Linked DNA regions of Homo sapiens: region 2 is linked to region 1. The links are contacts of gene promoters, found by promoter capture Hi-C in human tissues and cell types (Jung and others, 2019). All regions are on one chromosome and are shown on one strand. The core of a region is centred on a gene start or on the middle of the fragment in contact, and the rest is flanking DNA. Distances in the headings are between cores, read along the strand shown.

The links. Contacts are between HindIII fragments. The study calls those that stand out against the background at their distance.
Region 2: a contact is called between a fragment that was not itself captured here and the fragment with the promoter of CSTB in region 1, in 1 of the 25 tissues and cell types used here (dorsolateral prefrontal cortex).

What each region holds. Positions count from the first base shown.
Region 1 is chr21:43,774,832-43,777,557 of GRCh38, forward strand. It overlaps CSTB (cystatin B), which reads right to left and starts at 1,477. Exons shown (of 3, transcript NM_000100.4): 1 at 1,373-1,477. The coding sequence starts at 1,438. RefSeq lists a silencer at 1,056-2,055. The HindIII fragment of the contact is 5,981 bases long and covers 1-2,726 here.
Region 2 is chr21:44,330,964-44,334,977 of GRCh38, forward strand. It overlaps CFAP410 (cilia and flagella associated protein 410), which reads right to left. Exons shown (of 7, transcript NM_004928.3): 4 at 2,070-2,299; 5 at 880-1,051. Among named protein-coding and RNA genes, the nearest start is that of CFAP410, 6.4 kb to the right of the region's middle. RefSeq lists enhancers at 405-906, 907-1,406. The HindIII fragment of the contact is 7,900 bases long and covers 1-4,014 here.

The sequences.
Region 1 (2,726 bases), core at 227-2,726:
CATGTGAGCACACACACGATTCTGACACTGGCTCTTCACACAATTGTCTCTTACAACTGAAGGGACATTTAAACTGTCAGCCTAATAATAAAGTAGAAAAAAACAGTTCCAGCTGGGTACGGTGGCTCAAGGATGTAATCCCAGAACTTTGGGAGGCTGAGGTGGGCGGATCACTTGAGGTCAGGAGTTTGAGACCAGCCTAGCCAAATGGCAAAACCCCGTTTCTACTAAAAATACAAAAATTAGCTGGGCGTGGTGGCGAGCACCTGCAATCCCAGCTACTCGGGAGGCTAAGGCAGGAGAATCCCTTGAACCTGGGAAGCGGAGGTTGCAGTGGGCCGAGATTGTGCCACTGCACTCCACCCTGGGCAAGAGTGAGACTGAGTCTCAAAAACAAAAAAAAAAAACACAGGCCTCAGCATCGCCTGGACCTGTTCTTGCTTGGGGCATCCCGTCGGTCACCAACCATGACAGCGAGGCGGGCCTGGCCTGTGCTCCACCGGAGGGGGCTTCTTGCACAGATGACCTGCTCATTTCAGCCCCTCCAGAATCTTCTGGCAGGCGCAGAGCAACAGGACGTCCATTTTACAGACGAGGAAACCGAGACACAGGGAAGGTTGCCATCTGCAACCCAGCCCGGTTTTTATCTTGTTTTTCTGTGTTTTAACTTTTTATTTAGACTTACAGTTTGAAACAGTGCTAGAATCGGAAGCATGTAAAGAAACCTGTGGACCTTTTATGCAGATACACTTAAGTTTTTAACCCATGTGCCTTATCACTGGGGACCTCTTGCACTCTCTCTCATGATTTTTTTCCCGAACTAGATGAGGATATTGACAAAGATTCTTGCTTGGCCAAACTGTAGTCGGGCTCCTGAAGCGCCTAGGCCACCTGCGCACTTCCTTGTAAAATCCACTTTTAGCAAGAAGCCTGGCTAAGTCAGTTTAGCCAGACCCTTCCCACCCGCTTGCTATCGGATCACCGTGGAGATCGGAGCCGGCTGCTCACCTGCGCCATCGCCGGCGACGCCCGATCACCCTGCCTGCCTGAAACCAGAAGCGCCTCATCCCTGGGGTTTCCTCTCAGAGACTGTCCATGCAGGGACCGCACCCTGCTCCGGGCTATCAATTCCCACTCGCCCTTGCTGTATTCAGCGGAGCCCAATGTCTCCCCAGCGGCGCCCCAGGCGCGGCCCCCCGCTGCTCACTCGCGCGCAGCGCCCGAGCGGAGGGAGGCCTCTCACGGCCACAGCCCGGGCCAGCCCAGGGGTGCGCAGCGGGGCCAAAGCGGCTTCTTTCGCTCCAGGAGCCGCGGCCGCGCCCTGAGGCTAAGGCAGGACTCCGGGCCGGCCCCGTCCCCGCGGCCCACCCACCTGGTCGGCGATGTGCTGGGTCTCGGCGGTGGCCGGCTGCGTGGCGGAGGGCGCCCCGCACATCATCTTGGCGGCGACGGAGGGAATCTGGCGAGGGGACTCGGCGAGGGGACGCGGCGGCTCCTCAGCCCAAGTAGGCGCTGGGGTCACGTGACGCGCGGGCGGAACCAAGGGGCGGGGAGGAGGCACTTTGGCTTCGGAGTCCCCTGCGGGGTCGCGGTGGCCCCGCAAGAAGGGACGCGCGGGGCGGGGCGCGGGGCGGGGCGCGGGGCGGGGAACCTGGCCACCACTCGCCGCAGGCTGGGTCTCCGCGCCCAGCGCTGGTGTCGGGAGGGAGCGCCCCCCTCCCGGGGCTGGTATCGTCTTTCCGGGCGCCGAGTCACACGGACCGGGGCGGGGGCGCGGCCGGGTGTCGCCGGTGGGTTGGGCGCGCAGGGTGGGACGATAGGGAAGGGGCAGTCGGAGTAGGCGCAATCCTGCAGGGTGGCGGGGTCCGGGCCGCGCACGAGGGAGGGCGGGGCGCAGCGCTGCAGGGGTCAGGGGTCAGGGGTCCCGGCCCCGCGGGAGCAGGTGTGCGGGCTGCAGTGGACATCACCGCTTGTGACCGAGAACACTGAAGGCTGAAGGGGGTGGACAGAGGGGCCCAGGGAGGGGGAGACGGCGCCCACGCGCTCCAGGCTGGGTGGGGGCAGGGGGTAGATCAGAGGGATGAGAAGAAGGCAGGGTTCTCTGGTGGAATTTGCGTTTTAGGATTTCTTTTCTTTCTTTCCTTTTCTTTTCTTTTTTTTTTTTTTTTTTTTTTTTTGAGACGGAGTCTCGCTCTGTCTCCCAGGCTGGAGTGCAGTGGCGCGATCTCGGCTTACTGCAGGCTCCGCCTCCCGGGTTCACGCCATTCTCCTGCCTCAGCCTCCCGAGTAGCTGGGACTACAGGCGCCCGCCACCACACCTGGCTAATTTTTGTATTTTTAGTAGAGACGGGGTTTCACTGTGTTAGCCAGGATGGTCTCGATCTCCTGACCTTGTGATCCACCCGCCTTGGCCTCCCAAAGTGCTGGGATTACAGGTGTGAGCCACTGCGCCCGGCCTTTTTTTTTTTTTTTTTGAGACGGAGTCTGGATCTGTCGCCTAGGCTGGAGTGCAGTGGCGCAATCTCGGCTCACTGCAAGCTCCGCCTCCGGGGTTCACACCATTCTCCTGCCTCGGCCTCCCGAGTAGCTGGGACTACAGGCGCGCGCCTTCATGCGCAGCTAATTTTTGTGTTTTTAGTAGAGACGGGGTTTCACCATATTGGCCAGGCTGGTCTCGAACTCCTGACCTCGTGATCCACCTGCCTCGGGCTCCCAAAGTGCTGGAA
Region 2 (4,014 bases), core at 567-3,066, 560 kb after region 1:
ACCGGGGGGGCCTCTGCAAACCCTGTCTGCGGGTCGCATCCAAGCAAAGGAGGGGCTCATACAAATCCCACCTGGCACACGGGGGCAAGAGAAGGGAGGCAACTCCTGGGAGGTCAGGGGCTACAGATGGCAGCTCCTGGAGAGCCCGGCACTTACTTCACCTGTGGGGCGCCCTCCCGGCACCCTGGGGCTCCCCAGCTGTAACACCTTCCACCCAGGGCTTCAGGGGCAGGGTGGGGGGCACCCGAACACACAAATGCCGGGGGAGAGCTCCTGACCATGGGGTCAGGCCCTGTGCCGGATGGCAGATGCCTAACAGAGATCACATCCCGATGCCCCCACCACAGGCACCAGCAGCGGGTGTGATCTGCCAAGCAGGAGAGAAGTGCCCAGCTTCTGTCAAATGCGTTCGTGACCCGCTGCCAACTGCCCTGGGAGGCGCCGGCGTCTCACTGCAGAGTCAGCCCTGTGGCCCCTCCACGGCCCCCAGGCCCAAGGCCATACGGGCACTGATGGCCGTGCCCACAAACCATTCCAGTCACTGTGGCCCTAGGCCACCCCCCCCACCAGGGGCTCCCTGCACCTCACGAGCTCTGGTGCTGTGAGCCTTCTCTGTGCCAGGGCACGGGGCCTGGCTCACCCCCTCTCCTGCTCCCTGGCACATCCGCTGTTGGGCAAAACATGGACCTGCCACTGAAATCACTACCTGGGCACTGAGTCACTCCCAGAGAATATGGATGAGAACAGACACTCCCCCCGGATAATCCCTGTCCCTCACTTCCCAGAGACGCAGCTCACGGGAAGCCCCATTCACTCCCCGTGGGAGGACCCTGGGGGACAGGGATGGGCTGCGGAGTCCCCGCTGCCCTCCAGCCTCACGTTGCCTCCTCCTCGCTGTCCAGCGGGTCCCGGCCAGTCTCAGCAGCGGAGCTGAGGGAGCTCAGTGTGCAGCATAGCTTGGGGCCGCCGTGGCCTGTGCCCTCTCTCTCTGGGGCCGCAGTGATCTCCTCTCCCTCACTCAGTGCACGGGACAGCTCCTCCTCCGTCACAGCTTTGGGATGAAAGACAGAAGACAGCATGAGTGGCCTCACCCACGTGCAGGCCACATGCACTGCAGCTCCCGTCCTCACTGTGGCTTCAGGCACAGTCTGCTTGTGAAATGCATGCACGTGTATCCACCTCCAGGGACAACTCCCAGAGTAGCAGCCGGTTCCTCACTGTCCCATCCCCAGCCTGGCACAGGCTGACACACAACAGATGGTGGAGGGCTGCTCAGGAATCTCAACACCAGCCTTGGCCAGAAGCAAATACTCCTCAAAACCTCAACTAAGACACAATAGAAAAAGGAACAGACCATATTGAATTTATTCCATTTCTCTCATATATCAATTTCCCTGAAGTTTATATTATTAATATCAATAAAATTGTCTGGGAGAAAATAGTGGTGTCTGTATACCTGACAAGGATGAGACACTAGTGTGCTGAGAATGCCAAGGATGAACAAACAGCATGAAACCACAGCCTGGAAAACTGTGTCGGTGCTGGCGCTGGCTAGAGGAGGCACGAGTGCCTCCAATAGGTGGAGCGCAGCAGCAGGCACTGCGGTGCTGGGACGGCCCCTCCCCACGGCAGGGGCGCGATGGCACCGCCACCCTAGGTTCACAGTGGCCCGTGGAGCCTGCCCAGTCCCTGTGGACCAGTGCGATGCTGCTTGCCAGATACTGACGCCCCCGCTCGCCATGGCGCATGGCGATGGTCAGAGCAGGGCTGCTACTCACAGAAGCAAAAGAAGGAACCCTTTTGCTTTGCTACCAGGTCCTGCGGTCGTTGGGGGATACCCAAACTGTCAGTCCCAGGAGGGACCCTACGCTGCGCTGCTGCATTCGGGTGGCGGGATCAAGAGGAGACACAGAAGCCAGGGGAACAGCCTCTGGAGGAGACTTCACAGGACACATCTATGTCCCGCCAGACCAGGTATTTGCAGAAAAGGAGAAGAGAAAAGAGGGCTGGGGACATCCCCTTCCAGGGATTGTTTTGGGAGGGCCGGTGACTCCGCTGCGGCCACCTACCCTGGTTGTCCAGCTTCTGTAGGCGCGGCAGGGTGCGCAGCACGGTCATGCGGTAGCGGTGGGGGCTGGTGCCGCAGCACGGGTTCTCGGCCAGCCACAGCACCCGCAGACGCGGCAGCCCCTTCAGGTAGAAGAGCTCAGCCAGGCTGGGGATGCGGTTCCTCCGCAGGTACAGCTCACTCAGGCGCTGGCACCGGCTCACAGGCTCCAGGGTGGAGATGCTGTTGACACTGCACGGAGACCAGCACAGTCAGCGAGGGACGTGGCCAGGGCCCCCAGGGCCACCTCTCAATCCCCACCCCCAGTAAAAGGCACTCATGGGACCTGTGTCCCTGCCCTCTCCTGAGAAGCCTAAATCGGATGTCACAAGTCACGTGCAGCAGGACCTGGGCCGAGGAGAGAGCTGTAGGAAGGCCAGGCCCTGAACTCAAAGGCGGACTGGGGTGGACCCCACCAGCAACAGCCCCTTGGCCCGACGCTCCACATCAGCTCCTCAGGGCGCTAGAGTGCGGGAGGTGGGGGATGTGGCCCTCCTTCACAGGTGAGGAAAATTAAGGCCTCTCAGGGGACATATCATGTTGCCCCAAAGCAGGGAGCGGCCAGAAAAACTCATGGCAAAAACTAGGAGCCAGCTCCACGTGACATGGGAGTGAGCACGGACCTTCCAAACCCCCACTTGAGGGCGGCAACACTGGGGATGGGCCTCATTTCCATTCTACAGAACGTGGACGCGTCAGAGAAGAGAAACAGCAGGCCTGGAGCGGGGACCTGCAGGCTTTACCCTGCAGCGTGGGGTCCGTCCCCTCCACAAGCGAACACGCGGAGCCGCTCCCGCAGGCCCTCAAAGGCGCGGAGCCAGGGCCCCCTGCCTGGAGGGCTGCACTCGCGTCCGGCAGGCGCCTCAGAAGGGCGGTCACCAGGCCCCCATGGGCAGCCTGCCGTCCTGAGCCCCCCTCCCCATGCCATCCCTTCACTCGGGGTTTCCCAGGTCTCATGCAGCTCCTAGCTATGAGGCCGCCCCATTTTACCAAGAGCAAAACTCCGGCTGTGGGACTCTTTCCAGGATGGGGTCTGCCTCAGGCACAGGCAGCAGCGTGATGTACCGACCGCGTCCGCGGCCTCGAGGCTTCCTGCTCCGCTCCAGTGCAGTCAGGCGTGCAGGCACCACGCACCTGAGCTCGGTCAACACCCCTGGGGTCCTGTCCCTCCCGAGATGTGACAGAAATGGCCCCACACACGAGCGGCCTGATGCTCGGAGGCCCTGTGGCCCCTGGGTGACTCAGTGAGCGGCAGGGATAGGGCTGGATCCACAGCCCCGCCCCAAGCTTCCTGCCACCGTGGGAACCACAAGCTCCACGTTTCCCTGTCAGGTAAGCCTTTCGGAGGCAGGCCTGAAATCCCAGCCTCACTGTGTCGCCTGACTAGTGAAACGAGCCCCGCGGCAGGCACGCGCACCCCCCCTCAACCTCTGGGCGGGCACGCGCACCCCCCCCCCCCCCCCGCTCAACCTCTGGGCGGGCACGCGCACCCCTGCTCAACCTCTGGACTCGGGCTCCATCTCCTCCTCATCTCCCTGTGGGGTGGGCACTTGTAATACCTCCATGTTACAGAAAGGAAACTGAGGCACAGAGAGGGCCATGCCTCGCCCAAGGTTAGCCAGCCAATAGATGGGAGGGCTGAGATTTGACCCATGAGCATGCCTCCAAGCCCATTTCATTCATTCAGCAAGGCTCGGGCAGGACAGGCTGGTGCCCGCGCTGGGGATGCCTGAACACCAGATGGACTGGCCTCAGCCCATGGCGGGCAGCAGGCTGGGCACGGGCATCAACATGGCAATGCCAACCTCAGAGGGCATTACGGAGGATGGGCAGGGGCTGGCCTACCCCGTGGCTGCCTGTGAGATCAAGAAGGTAGGTCACAGTCAGGGACCAGGGGCCTGCAATAC